4 separate regions of the Homo sapiens genome follow, and regions 1, 2 and 3 are each linked to region 4. The links are contacts of gene promoters, found by promoter capture Hi-C in blood cells and fetal thymus (Javierre and others, 2016). All regions are on one chromosome and are shown on one strand. The core of a region is centred on a gene start or on the middle of the fragment in contact, and the rest is flanking DNA. Distances in the headings are between cores, read along the strand shown.

Region 1 (3,624 bases), core at 68-2,567, 350 kb after region 4:
CCTGGCGCGGTGGCTCACGCCTGTAATCCCAGCACTTTGGGAGGCCGAGGCAGGCAGATCACCTGAGGTTGGGAGTTTGAGATCAGCCTGACCAACATGGAGAAACCCCATTTCTACTAAAAATACAAAATTAGCCGGGTGTGGTGGTGCATGCTTGTAATCCCAGCTACTCAGGAGGCTGAGGCAGAATTGCCTGAAGCTGGGAGGCGGAGGTTGCAGTGAGCCAGAGATCGTGCCATTACATTCCAGCCTGGGCAACAAGAGCAAAACTCTGTCTCAAAATAATAATAATAATAATAATAATTAAAAAAAAAAAAACAGTACGAGTGTGAAGATCGGAAGGTGGAGGTGAGGGAGGTGAGAGGTCTTGGGCCTGCCCACATTCTTCCTAAGCTATTTTGGCTGGCCCAGGCTGGGAGGCCAGGAATTGCTTTTCCTCTTCAAAAGAAAAGGGGACAAAAAATTAGCTGGGCGTGGTAGCACTCATCTGTAGTCCCAGCTACTCAGGAGGCTGAGGCAGAAGAATTGCTTGAACCGGGGAGGCAGAGGTTGCAGTAAGCTGAGATTGTGCTGCTGCCCTCCAGCCTGGGTGACAGAGCGAGACTCGGTCTCAAAAAAAAAAAAAAAAAAAATGGGGAGGAGGACAGGGCATGGTGGTTCATGCCTATAATTCCAGCATTTTGGGAGGCCAAGGCAGGCAGATCACTTGAGGCCAGGAGTTCGAGACCAACCTGGGCAACACAGTGAAACCCTTTCTCTACTAAAACTACAAAAAATTACCTGGGCATGGCAGCACATGCCTGTAATTTCAGCTACTCGGGAGGCTGAGGCATGAGAATCACTTGAACCTGAGAGGGGGAGGTTGCAGTGAGCCAAGATGGCACCACTGCACTCCAGCCTGGGCAACAGCGTGAGACTCTGTCTCAAAAAAAAAAAAAAAAAAAAAAAATGGCTGGGACACCGTGACTCATGCCTGTAATTCCAGCACTTTGGGAGGCAGAGGCAGGAGGATCCCTGTGAGGCCAGGAGTTCAAGACCAGCCTGGGCAACATAGTGAGACCCAGTCTCTATAAAAAAATTAAAAATTAGCCAGGCGTGGTGGTGTATTCCTGTAGTCCCAGGTACCGGGGAGGTTGAGGTGGGAGGATCCCTTGAGCCCAGGACTTCGAGGCTGCAGTGAGCTATGATCACGCCACTGCACTCCAGCCTTGGCGACAGAGCAACACCCATCTCTTAAATATTATTTATTATAAGGCTTTTGGGCTGGGTGCTGTGGCTCACGCCTGTAATCCCAGCACTTTGGGAGGCCGAGGCGGGCGGATCACGAGGTCAGGAGATTAACACCATCCTGGCTAACACGGTGAAACCCTGTCTCTACTAAAAATACAAAAAATTAGCCGGGTGTGGTGGCATGCGCCTCTAGTCCCAGCTACTCAGTAGGCTGAGGCAGGAGTATGGCGTGAACCTGGGAGTCGGAGCTTGCAGTGAGCCGAGATCGCACCACTGCACTCCAGCCTGGGCAACAGAGCGAGACTCCGTCTCAAAAAAAAAAAAAAAAAGACTTTTGATTGGGTTAGACCTCACCAGTTAGAGATGCTCCTTTAGTTATCTGAGGCTGCTGAGTGGGGTAATCCTAGACCTGGATGCTAGTTTGAAGAAAGCAAGTCTCAGTGCTGGAAGGGGTCATTCAAGGTCATCCATGAGCTTCTGCTGAGCCAGGTGCTATAGGTGGGCTAGGTGGGACAGGAGACAGGTCAGCATCCAGGGTCCTTGAAGGGACCATGTCCTTAAGAAGAGGTAGGATGCCTCCAATGCAGTGGTCCACTGCACGGTGTGGCTGAGACTGCTACAGAGGACACATGGGAAGACCTGCCAGGGTTGGGGGTGGGGGAGGAGCAAGGGCGTCATCCTGGAAGTCACCCCCAAATAGGGCCAAGAAAGATCAGAGAGACAGCAAAGCTCTAATACCACCCTCTGCAAACCCCACCTATGGCGACCTCTCACCTCCTGTCTCCTATTCTCAAACTGGCCTATGCCTAAGGGCCAACCCAGAGACACTTCCACACTGGTCCCTGTCACACGAGACACGCTGGAAGATGGGAATGGCCAACCTCCAGACACACACACATCCAGGCTCCTATCCCCAGAGTGCGTGTTCTCATCCTACTGCATCTCGGAGGCTGGCAGGGTGAATCCCCCAGCAGGTCAGGTAGGTCTGAGGTGTCTCAGCCTGAACTCATGACTCCAAACCACCTTCACGCCTTCGTCCCAACCCAGAAGGAAGAGATCCAGGGAGGAGGGCACACATCGGGCTGCAGGCCAACACACTGACCCTGAGCCTGGCCTCCCCAGCATCAGGCTGAGGAACAGGAGGGTTGAGATGAGCCCCATTAGGTATGTGTGAAGTCTCTGGGACATGGGATGATGCCAGCTGCTGGGATGCAGAAAAGTTGGAGGCAGGGGACAGAGTCTCATTCAAAAGAATTTGTCCATAATCCAAGCTGGGTGTTGTGGCTCACGCCTATAATCCCAGCACTTTGGGAGGCCCAAGCAGATGGATCACTTGAGGTCAGGAGTTCAAGACCAGCCTGGCCAACATGCTGAAACCCCGTCTCTACTAAAAATATAAAAATTACCCGTATGTGGTAGCCCAGGCCTGTAATCCCAGTTACTTGGGAGGCTGAGGTGGGAGGATTGCTTGAACCCAGGAGGTGGAGGTTGCAGTGAGCCCAGATCATGCCACTGCACACCAGCCTGGGCAACAAAGCGAGCAAAGCGAGACTCCATTTCAAAAAAAAAAAAAAAAAATTTTAGCTGCGTGTGCTGGCACATGCCTGCAAATCCCAGCTACTCCGGAGGCTGAGGCATGAGAATCACTTGAACCTGGGAGGCAGAGGTTACAGTGAGCCGCCAGCAACTGTATCTCAAATAAATAAATAAATAAATAAGAATTTGTCTGGAATCTGGGTGAGGCAGAGGAAAATGAAAGAAACCAGAAAAGCAAAGATAAACAGATTTGCAGGGTGGGGTGGAGGATGGAGAATTCAATGGAGCTGAGCACAGCAAGGAGGAGAATGTTGGGCTGAAGGCCTGAGCTTGCTGGGGAGATGTCCTTGATGTCCACACTGGGCATAGAAGGTTGATTGATGCCAGTGGTTAGGGTCCCAAAGAGCCCAGGGACAGCTGGAGGTAGAAAGAAAGGGTGTGGAGGCACGGAAGATGGGCCCATAACCCAGGAAAAGGGAGCCACAGATAGGGGAAATGTATGCAGAAATCGCCACCCTCACTCTGGGAGGCAGGTCCCGACAGATCCCCTTAGCAGGGGACCAATGCCCAGGACCTTGGGGAGATGGTTGGGGACGGGGGAAGCAGCAGATGGTCTGTTACTCAATGAGCACACAGGAGATGTTGGGGGGTCTTGGGGTGGAGAGTGATTCCATGGAAGCCTCTGGATTGGACAAGGAGATGTTGGTGTGAGGTTTTTCCACAGTCCAAGAGAGGCGATTGGACAAGGAGATGTTGGTGTGAGGTTTTTCCACAGTCCAAGAGAGGCTGGTAGAAGAAAAGCAGGTTCTGCTATCAGGCCGGGTGCAGTGGCTCACACCTGTAATCTCAGCCCTTTGG
Region 2 (3,288 bases), core at 240-2,739, 280 kb after region 4:
TCTGGCCCAGGATGATGAAGGCAGAGAAATACTGCCTTCTGAAGGGTGAGAGGCAGCTAGAAGAGCTGGTTCAGTGTTGGGGCCCTGGATTAGCTGGTTTGCATATGAAAGGCACACTCAGCCAGGAGCCGTGGCTCAAGCCTGTAATCCCAGCACTTTGGGAGGCCGAGGTGGGCAGATCACAAGGTCAGGAGATGGAGACCATCTTGGCCAACGTGGTGAAACCCCGTCTCTATTAAAAATACAAAAATTAGTTGGGCATGGTGGCACGCACTTGTAATCCCAGCAACTTGGGAGGCTGAGGCAGGAGAATCGCTTGAACCCAGGGGTGGAGGTTGCAGTGAGCCGAGACCGTGCCACTGCACTCCAGCCTGGCAGCAGAGTGAGACTGTTTCAGAAAAAAAAAGGGACACTCTCAGAGGGGTCATTTGCTAGCTCTAACAACTGGCTGGCTCTGGCAGGGGCAGTCCCTCTCTCTGCTCTTGGAGGTCCAAGATGCCAGAATATCAGCAATCCAGTGGGGCTTGGTGAGGTGGCTCACACCTGTCATCCCAGCACTGAGGGAGGCCGAGGCAGGAGGATTGCTTAAGCCCAGGAACTTGAGACCAGCCTAGACAACATAGTGAGACCCCATCTCTCAAAAAAAAAAAAAAATTAGCCGTGTGTGGTGGTGTGTGCCTGTGGTCTTCACTACTTGGGAGGCTGAGGTCAGCAAATTGCTTCAGCCCAGGAGTGATGGTGATCGCGTCCCTACACTCCAGTCTGTGGACACTCTAGTACCTTGAGGACAGTACAGCCTGATTACAGAAGCTTTACAGCAAGTCTTGAAGTCAGGTATTATAAATCTTCCACCTTCATTCTTCATTTGTAAAGGCCTTTTGGCTATTCTAGGTCCTTTGAATTACTGTGAGAATATTACAGTTGGCTTGTGAACTCCACAAAGCCTATGGGATGTCGATTGGGATCAGAGGAAAGCAGGAACGGTGGGTGCCAAGGAGAGGTGAGGGGCTGGGGGCAGGGACGGATGTGGCCAGTGAGGACAGTAGGATACTTGTTGGGGGAATGTGGGGACATCCAAGCAGTGGTTCTCATAATGCGGTGCAGGGTACTTACCCCCTCCCTGCCCCTGCTCCCCACACACGACTTCCCACGCCTCTCCCATGAGCACCTGCACTAAGGGGCTGCATTTAGGCTCTGCCCACATTGGAATCATGCCCTCCTCCAGGCCCTCCTCCTCCTCTCAGAAGCCCTGTCTGTGAGAGAGCCACAGCCCCAGGCTCAGTCCCAGGTTCTGTCACTGCTGTTGGGGGAGGGAGGATGAACAAATCCAGGAGACCTCACACCATCCCAGAGCAGAAATCCTGACACAGAAGGAATCTCCCATGGGGGTTCAGCTGGATCCAGGGCCTGAAAGTGACATAAACATGCATGTTGCATCTAAGGAGACTGCACGTGGCAGCATTGGGCAGCATGTGCCCTCCAGAGCTACCCAGAGGCTGTTGGCTATAAGTTCTATGTGGCCCCCACATTGGACAGCCTGGTAAGCAGGTGACCTTTCAGCCAGGTCCTCAGGTGGGGCGGGCCACCCTCTCGAGGCCCTGCCCAGACAGCCAGGGGGTCCCTTGTCCTCTCTGCAGCCCATCTTTCCAGCTGTGACCAGTTCAGCCCAAAGCCCCCGTCCCTCAGTTTCCCTGTGGGTTGAATGGAGATAATGTGTCACCTCAGAATGTTGTGAAGCAGAGAATGAGGTGTTTAGGGCCTGGCTCAGACGGAGGGGTTTCCTGAGCATGGGGAACCTGTTTCCTCAGGCCTGTAAAGGGAGGGAGGGCGGGCCGGCCTGGCTGGCCCTGGGAAGCACAGAGGAGCCTACTAGGACCAGGGAAGAGACTAAGAGAAGGGAGGCCCGTCCCTGCCTGCTTCTGTCTCAAGAAGGCTGATGTCACTTCCTCTGATGAAATCCTGTCTTCCCCCACGGCCCCTCAACTGATGCCACCTCACCCTGGAGAGGGTGGGCAGAGCCTCCTACGGAGGGAGCCCTGTGCACCACCAAAGCTCCCTGCTCCAGTGACCACCCCCGGGCAAAGGCCGGCAGATCCCCGTTAGAGATGGGCCCAGGACTGTGTGTGGGGTGGGTGTTGCTCTGAGCCTTCACTTTCTTCTGTGTCCAAGGAAGCTTCTGGATCAGCCAAGGGCTCAGGTGTGTGGAGGGAATGACCTGAGGGGCTGTATGAAGGGACAGCCTCCTGTCCTGCACTCAGAAGTTGAGGCCCAGAGATTCCACCCTTCAGCCAGGCCCAGACATCTGGGTTGAGGGGGCTCCAGTCCTGTACCCACTACTGCAAGTCACGTGGCCTGGGGCAGGGCTTCTCAGAGCCCTGTCCCCTCCTGTGTAGGGCGGGACGTCAGAGGGGAGCCTGCAGACCCAGTCTCATGTCTTGGGGGTCAAGGGGTGGCTTCCAGAAGGACCAGTCTCTGTGTAGGGGACCATTAGCCCCCTCACCCCTTGAGCAAGGTCGTGGTGCCTGCACCGAGAGAGGGCCTGGGGCAGGAAGAGGCCAGCTGGGTCGTGGTGGTGCCTGGGGACTGCATGGGAGCCCCTGCCAGGGAGGGAGAGGGACAGAGGACAAGCTGGGGGCTCTTCTGCTTGGGCTGGGGGCTGAGCACCTGTGACCTCCACCGGCTTCCTTCTCCTCCTCTCTGAGGACTGAATCTGGGGCGCAGAAGGACAGAGATTCAGGCCTGCCTTTCCTCTCCCTGAAAGAGCCTGCGCTGGCCCTGGGCAGAGAGAAGGATGAGAAGTGAGGCTGAGTGAGGTGGGGTCTGCAGGGATCCAGGTGGGAGGGGCCCAGCCAGCCAAGGTCAGGCCCAGCCCCCCAAGGTCAGGCCCAGCCCCTCGGCAGGAGGACGGGGACCGCGGCCTTTGGGCAGGGCTGACTTGGCACTGACCACAAGGGAGGCCCTTTTGCAATAGGGGAAAATAAGCCAGATGGATAAAGGAAGTGCTGGTCACCCTGGAGGTGCACTGGTTTGGGGAAGGCTCCTGGCCCCCACAGCCCTCTTCGGAGCCTGAGCCCGGCTCTCCTCACTCACCTCAACCCCCAGGCGGCCCCTCCACAGGGCCCCTCTCCTGCCTGGACGGCTCTGCTGGTCTCCCCGTCCCCTGGAGAAGAACAAGGCCATGGGTCGGCCCCTGCTGCTGCCCCTACTGCCCTTGCTGCTGCCGCCAGCATTTCTGCAGCCTAGTGAGTACCCAGGACCACCCAGATGTGGGCTCTGCCCAAACCACAG
Region 3 (3,301 bases), core at 630-3,129, 320 kb after region 4:
GATGGATTTGTTCATTACTTTGGCCTGAGCTCCTTCTTACCCTGAACCAGGAAACTCACCGGCAGGGAATCAAGATGGGAAGTAAAAAGAAAATATTCCCCTAAGTCAGGATCAGATTCTATCATGCCTGGCCACCTGGAGAAGATAGTTGGGTGTAGGGGACAGAAGAGAAGGGGTTAGATGAACAGAACACAACCTCATCAATGTACATGCACAGAGAAGAGCAGTATGATTTTTTTTCTGAGACAAGGTCTCACTCTGTCACCCAGGCTGGAGTGCAGTGTTACAACCATGGCTCACTGCAGCTTTGATCTGTCAGGCGCAAGTGATCCTCCCACCTCAGCCTCCTGAGGAGCTGGGACTACAGGCACATGCCACCACACCCAGCTGTTTATTTTATTTTTTGCAGAGATGGGGTCTCACTATATAGCCAGGACTGATCTCAAACTCCTGGGTTCAAGCAATCCTCCTACCTCAACCTCCCAAAGTGCTGGGATTACAAGCGTGAGTCACTGCGCTCAGCCAGCAGTATGCTTTGCAAAAAAAGGATCCAAAAAATAGATTCCCCTTCCATCATCCCCCTCTAGTGGTCACTACTGAATGACTCGTGAGAAAGTGACTTCCATCGATGCACACAGGAGCTCAGAATATACCTAGTGAAGGTATCTTACCCTTCTGAGCCATCCACAATCCTAAGAACAAAATCTTCGACTAGAGACATCTCCAAAGAAGAAACTATCCCACTTTTCCTTGTTCCCTTTACTTTGTCTCTCTCAATCTCAATATTTTTATTTATTTTTGAGATGGGGACTCACTCTGTCGCCCAGACTGGAGTGCAGTGGTGCAATCTTGGTTCACTGCAACCTCTGCCTCCCGGATTCAAGTGATTCTTCTGCCTCAGCGTCCTGAGTAGCTGGGACTACAGGCACGCGCCACCACGTCTGGCTAATTTTTCTATTTTTAGTAGGGATGGGATTTCACCATGTTGGCCAGGCTGGTCTCAAACTTGTGGTCTCAGGTGATCTGCCCGCCTTGGCCTCCCAAAGTGCTGGGATTACAGGTGTGAGCCACTGCGCCTGGCCAATCTCAATATTTTTAAATGCCTCAGATCCACCCTCTTCTTTCTACCAGTTGGGGTAGCACTATCAGACCCTTTTTTCCAGGGAGCTATCACCTCCATGCTGAAACCTCCAGAAAATACACTCTTTCAAAGCCTCCAGGCTTGGTACTTTATCTTTTCTCTCACCCCATGCTCTTTCTAAGGCCAGAACCATTTCAATTACAGATGTTTTCCATTTGCTTCCACCCCTGCTTGAATCTACCTCTCCCAAGTTTGTGAAGGATGCTCTGACTGTGTCATAATGCCCTACCAGGGGTAACCGTATTGCTTGGCCCAGATGATGGATCCTGGGATGTAGGAGGCATAGGCCACATCACTCTCAAGCCCTGTCCAGGTCTCCTCAGGAATATCACAGCGATTATACTGCACATCTGCTGAAAGAGAGAAGGAATGAAGGGACAGGAAGAGACTCTTTAAGAGAAAGAGCTGGATGAGAGCTGGGGAGAGAACAAGAAGGAAATTGGTATATGCAGCAGGTGGGACCAAAGGGGCACCTGGGAGATCAGCACAGAGGAAGAATAAAGACCCATGGAGGAAATGCAGCTGGAACCAGCTGAAATGCAGCTGGAACCAGCTGAAATGCAGCTGGAGGCAGTAGGAATGGTGCCTCCTCATACTCCAGGAAGAGATTCCACACTCCTGCTTGCATGCCCGCGTGTCTGACTGTGCTCCTGTCTATGGAGCACCATAAGAATAATTTCTCTGAGACTCTGTTTTCTCATCTGTAAAATAATTGGGCTGGACAAGATCATCATCATCTCTTCCAACTAGTTCCAAACAGCCTAGAATTCTAAGCGCACCAGATCTCTCTCGTCTGTTTTCCCCGATATATCCTATATCCCTCCCTATCCACCAACCCAATACCAATATTTTAATCAGGATTGACAGGGGCAGACCAATGCTCATGTATTTAGATTCCAGGCCCCTCCCCAACAAGATCACTTTACAGGGCATCTTCCTCCAGCCTTTTCTGCCCAGATTCATCTCCATATGAGAGGCAGATCCTTCCTCTCTCCCAAGCACTACAAGGACACTGAGTGCTAACTATATTTACGTAGTATTTAATCTAAAGGATAAGTGCAGAGAAAGAAAGGGAGGAACAATAAAACATGAATGAAAACATTTCCAGTCTTTTCTACCTGTGTTCTGATCACAGGACCAATTATCTGGGAGAACTGAGGGGTCAATGTTCCCACACAGCCGCCTCCATTTCCCACAGTTTGGGAAGGAACACTGGACCCAGACCAGACATTGACCTGTGAGAGGAAAAAAATGAAATAAGAGACTTAAAAATATGCTCTTCCTTCTTTAATCCAACTAAAATCAGGATAACCCTCCCAACTCCCAGAATGACATAGCCAGAGAGACATTAGAGATCAACCAGCCCGATCCCTGACTTATAAGAGGGAAACCAAGGCTCAAAGAGGTAACTGGCTTGCTGAGGATTAGCTAACTTGGCGATAGAGCTGAACTTAGAACTCAAGTCTCATGCCTTGATCTTTTTCCTGTACTAGGCTACCATGTCTCCCTGCCCCAAGGCTGAAAGGAATGTTTCTTGTATTGACAGTTCTTAAATTGAAAGGTTGCCTGGCATCTTTCCAGATAGTGCCTTGTTCTCTGCTGGCATGACACTACTGAAAAGTTCTTTTGAAGGGCTAACCTGCATCTCTTTTGTGCACAACATCCAGAGTTCTTATCCAAATCTCAACTGATTTACCTGTCACCAAATCACCAAGTTGCAAACTTTAGGACCAACAGTGTCTGAGTTCACTCTTCTCCAAAAGACACAGGTCTAAGCCTATCACTTCTCCATCAACTATTAACTCTGGGCCCTGCTCAAAGGCCAAGCCTTCCTTTTATCCATTACCTTCCAGACCCCCACCTCTCCTAAGCTGACCCATGTCCCTCAGCCTCTCCTCTCTCCCACCAAAACTCTTCCATTGTGGTCTTGGAAAGTCCATTGACTCGAGCAACAAAAGTCCACATATCCTCAACCTCAAATCTGAACTTCTATCTCCTTTCTGAAGCCTGGAGACCCACTAATGACACTGCCCCACCTAAACCACCCCCACCTACAACCCTGTAAGTGCAGTCAGTTCCTCTCACACTCCCCATGTCTCTTGGGACAGAAAGTCAGGCTGGCATTATCATTGCCCCATTGCTACTACTCTCCAACTCTTA
Region 4 (3,308 bases), core at 341-2,840:
TTCCCAAGCATAAATTTCCTCGGCATGCCTCTACCATACCCAGCGAATTTTGTTTCCATGTTTTGTTGAAACAAGGTGTCACCATGTTGCCAAGGCTGGTCTCAAACTCCTGGGTTCAAGTGATCCTCCAACCTTGGCCTCCCAAAGTGCTAGGATTACAGGCGTGAGTCACCATGCCTGGCCTTGTGGAGTTATCTTCTTTCTTTCTTTCTTTCTTTCTTTTTTTTTTTTTTTTGAGATGGAGTCTCACTTTGTCTTGCCCGGGCTGGAGTGCAGTGGCGCGATCGCAGCTCACTGCAGCTTCCACCTCCCGGGTTCAAGCAATTCTCCTGCCTCAGGCTCCTGAGTAGCTGGGATTACAGGCGCCTGCCACCACGCCTGGCTAATTTTTGTATTTTTAGTAGAGATGGGGTTTCACCATGTTGGCTAGGCTCGTCTCAAACTGCTGACCTCAAGTGATTGTCTGGCCTCGGTCTCCCAAAATGCTGGTATTACAGGTGTGAGCCACCATGCCTGGCCTTGTGGGGTTATTTTCGAAAGTCCTTGAGATAATTCCTATCTCAGACATGCAAGCATGAGACCTTCTCCTTGGTGTTCTCATGGCTCCAATTTGTTTGGACCTGACAATGTGATTTTGTCCTGGTATCTGCAACTTTCACAAGATGGAGCAACTAACTCAACACCAGATTCCACCCCTAATTATTCCTTCATTCACTCAAAAAGTATCTAGGCTCCAATGTGTCAGGCACCGTGTTGGTCACAGGGGATACCATGATGAACAAGAGAAGGAACCACAGGCTTTTGAATGGGAAACTAAAGCATGTGAAAAACACACGGAGAGCTGGGTGCGGTGGCTCATGCCTGTAATCCCAGTGCTTTGGGAGGCTGAGGATGGAGGATCTCTTCTGCCCGGGAGTTGGAGACCAGCCTGGACAACCTAGTGAGACCCCCGTCTCTATCAAAATAAAAACAAATAATAAAATTAGCTGGGTGCGGTGGGGTGCGCCTGTAGTCCCAGCTACTCGGGAGGCTGAACTGGGAGGATCACTTGAGCCCAGGAGTTTGAGGGTGCAGTGAGCTGACATCAGGCCACTGCACTCCAGCCTGGGCGACAGAGCGAGACCCTGTCTCAAACAAAACAAAACAAACCACCACCACCACCAGACATGAGGGCCAGTGCAGCTGAAGCCTGAAGATCAAGGGCTAGAAGAGGCCAGGCCGGGGCCAGATCAGGCAGGGCCTTGCAGGTTGTGGTTAGTTGTTTGGATTTTATTGTGAGGGAAATAACACGACATGTCATTCCTTCTGCAACAGCCTTAAGAACTAGGCGTTCTTATCCCAATTTCACAGACGAGGACGATCAAGTCGTTAATTTGTCAAAGGTCACCCGCAGGCGACAGGCGGGGACAGGGTCTGGGAAAACCCGCTAGGCACCGAGGCCCAGAGGGCGTCGGGCGTCCCCGCACCGAGTGCCGCCCGCCGCGACCCGGGAACTGCCTGCTCCCCGGACGCCAGGCCCGCCGCACGCCGCGGGGACACCGAACATGCGCCGCTCGCCTTACGGAAGCCGGGAAGGAAGGGGGCGGGGCCGAGGCTGGCGGGCGCGGGGAAAATGGCGGCGGCGGCGGCGGCGGCTGCAGCTACGAACGGGACCGGAGGAAGCAGCGGGATGGAGGTGGATGCAGCAGGTAACGGGCCGTGCGGGGGTGGCTTCCGGAGACCTCCTTCAGGGGTTCGTTGAGGCCTCCCTGTGCTCCCGGGAGAAGGGAGGAGGGCGGAGCAGCAACATCTTTCCCTGGGATAAGTTACGGGAGGAAAGTGTGGCCCGGGCTCCGCCGTCCCCCACTGCCATCTCCAGGGAAGAACGTGGGGCCCGGACTCTCACCCTCTCTCCTTTCCCTCCACCCTTAGTAGTCCCCAGCGTGATGGCCTGCGGAGTGACTGGGAGTGTTTCCGTCGCTCTCCATCCCCTTGTCATTCTCAACATCTCAGACCACTGGATCCGCATGCGCTCCCAGGAGGGGCGGCCTGTGCAGGGTGAGTGTTGGGCATAGACTCCAGTCTCTTCTCCTTGCTCACCTCCCCCAGGCAGTGGTCTTTTCCCCTTCCTCTACTGGAGCCAATTCCCCCTCCCCCAAATCATCGTTTCCCCAATACATGGTTCCCACTGATCTCAGACCCTCAGGTCATAGAAGTTTCTTTACCCTCACCTTTTCCATGTCATTCTCTTTCCCAGTGATTGGGGCTCTGATTGGCAAGCAGGAGGGCCGAAATATCGAGGTGATGAACTCCTTTGAGCTGCTGTCCCACACCGTGGAAGAGAAGATTATCATTGACAAGGAATATTATTACACCAAGGAGGAGCAGTGTGAGAGTGGAATAGATGTGGGGAAGAGGAGTGGGAGTTAAAAAAAAAATGTACAGGGTGGGGAAGATGGAGAGGGTTGGAAAGAAACAGGAGAGGAGACCAAGAACAGGGGAGAAAAAGTGAAGAGTAGCTGGAGAGATCTCAGAAAAAGAAAACGTTCAGAGTTCTTTCTCAAAAGAAAGCAAAGGATGAGAGGAGACAGGATAGAAGGGAGTAGTTATTCTAAACTGAGCCAGGATTTGAGGAGGGAGGAGAGAAGCTGGTGAAAATACACCAGGAGCTTCACATTGAGGAAGGATGGTTTAAAGAATTACTATGTCAGGCCGGGCTCAGTGACTCATGCCTCTAATCCCAGCACTTTGGGAGGCCGAGGTGGGTGGATCATGAGGTCAGGAGTTCAAGACCAGCCTGGCAAACATAGTGAAACCCCACCTCTACTAAAAATACAAAAATTAGTCTGGCATGGTGGTGCGTGCCTGTAGTCCCAGCTACGCGGGATGCTGAGGCAGGAGAATTGCTTGAACCTGGGAGGCGGAGGTTGTGGTGAGCTGAGATCATGCCACTGCACTCCAGCCTGGGCAACAGAGCGAGATTCCGTCTCAGAAAAAAAAAAAAAAAGAATTACTATATGTTCTGGCCCCTTCCCCTCTAGTTAAACAGGTGTTCAAGGAGCTGGAGTTTCTGGGTTGGTATACCACAGGGGGGCCACCTGACCCCTCGGACATCCACGTCCATAAGCAGGTATGCATGCTCACACCTGTGCATGCTGGGGCAGAGAATGGAGAATGAGGGGAAGGAGAAAGGTAGGGGGCACTGACTTCCTGTGCATTGTCCCTCTCTTCCAGGTGTGTGAGATCATCGAGAGCCCCCTCTTTCTGAAGTTGAACCCTATGACCAAGCACACAGATGTGAGTAATACTCCATGCCTACTCTGTCATGA

What was found. Contacts are between HindIII fragments. The CHiCAGO score rates a contact against its expected background, and 5 or more counts as called.
Region 1: a contact is called between a fragment that was not itself captured here and the fragment with the promoter of COPS6 in region 4, in 4 of 17 cell types (naive B cells, neutrophils, naive CD8 T cells and 1 more). The highest score is 8.3, in naive B cells.
Region 2: a fragment that was not itself captured here is called in contact with the fragment with the promoter of COPS6 in region 4 in 1 of 17 cell types (naive B cells); the score reaches 6.7 in naive B cells.
Region 3: a contact is called between a fragment that was not itself captured here and the fragment with the promoter of COPS6 in region 4, in 5 of 17 cell types (naive B cells, total B cells, activated CD4 T cells and 2 more). The highest score is 10.0, in naive B cells.

Annotation. Positions count from the first base shown.
Region 1 is chr7:100,439,998-100,443,621 of GRCh38, forward strand. No RefSeq gene overlaps it. Among named protein-coding and RNA genes, the nearest start is that of PPP1R35-AS1, 5.1 kb to the left of the region's middle. The HindIII fragment of the contact is 6,057 bases long and covers 1-3,624 here.
Region 2 is chr7:100,370,479-100,373,766 of GRCh38, forward strand. PILRA (paired immunoglobin like type 2 receptor alpha) reads left to right here and starts at 3,009. Exons shown (of 7, transcript NM_013439.3): 1 at 3,009-3,242. The coding sequence starts at 3,179. RefSeq lists an enhancer at 1-677. The HindIII fragment of the contact is 1,363 bases long and covers 809-2,171 here.
Region 3 is chr7:100,407,169-100,410,469 of GRCh38, forward strand. It overlaps ZCWPW1 (zinc finger CW-type and PWWP domain containing 1), which reads right to left. Exons shown (of 18, transcript NM_001386010.1): 9 at 2,260-2,376; 10 at 1,371-1,491; 11 at 60-135. Among named protein-coding and RNA genes, the nearest start is that of ZCWPW1, 20 kb to the right of the region's middle. The HindIII fragment of the contact is 6,048 bases long and covers 1-3,301 here.
Region 4 is chr7:100,087,379-100,090,686 of GRCh38, forward strand. COPS6 (COP9 signalosome subunit 6) reads left to right here and starts at 1,591. Exons shown (of 10, transcript NM_006833.5): 1 at 1,591-1,688; 2 at 1,912-2,037; 3 at 2,237-2,368; 4 at 3,021-3,109; 5 at 3,214-3,276. The coding sequence starts at 1,613. RefSeq lists enhancers at 1-404, 1,791-2,482, 1,989-3,188 and a silencer at 1,451-1,640. The HindIII fragment of the contact is 8,452 bases long and covers 1-3,308 here.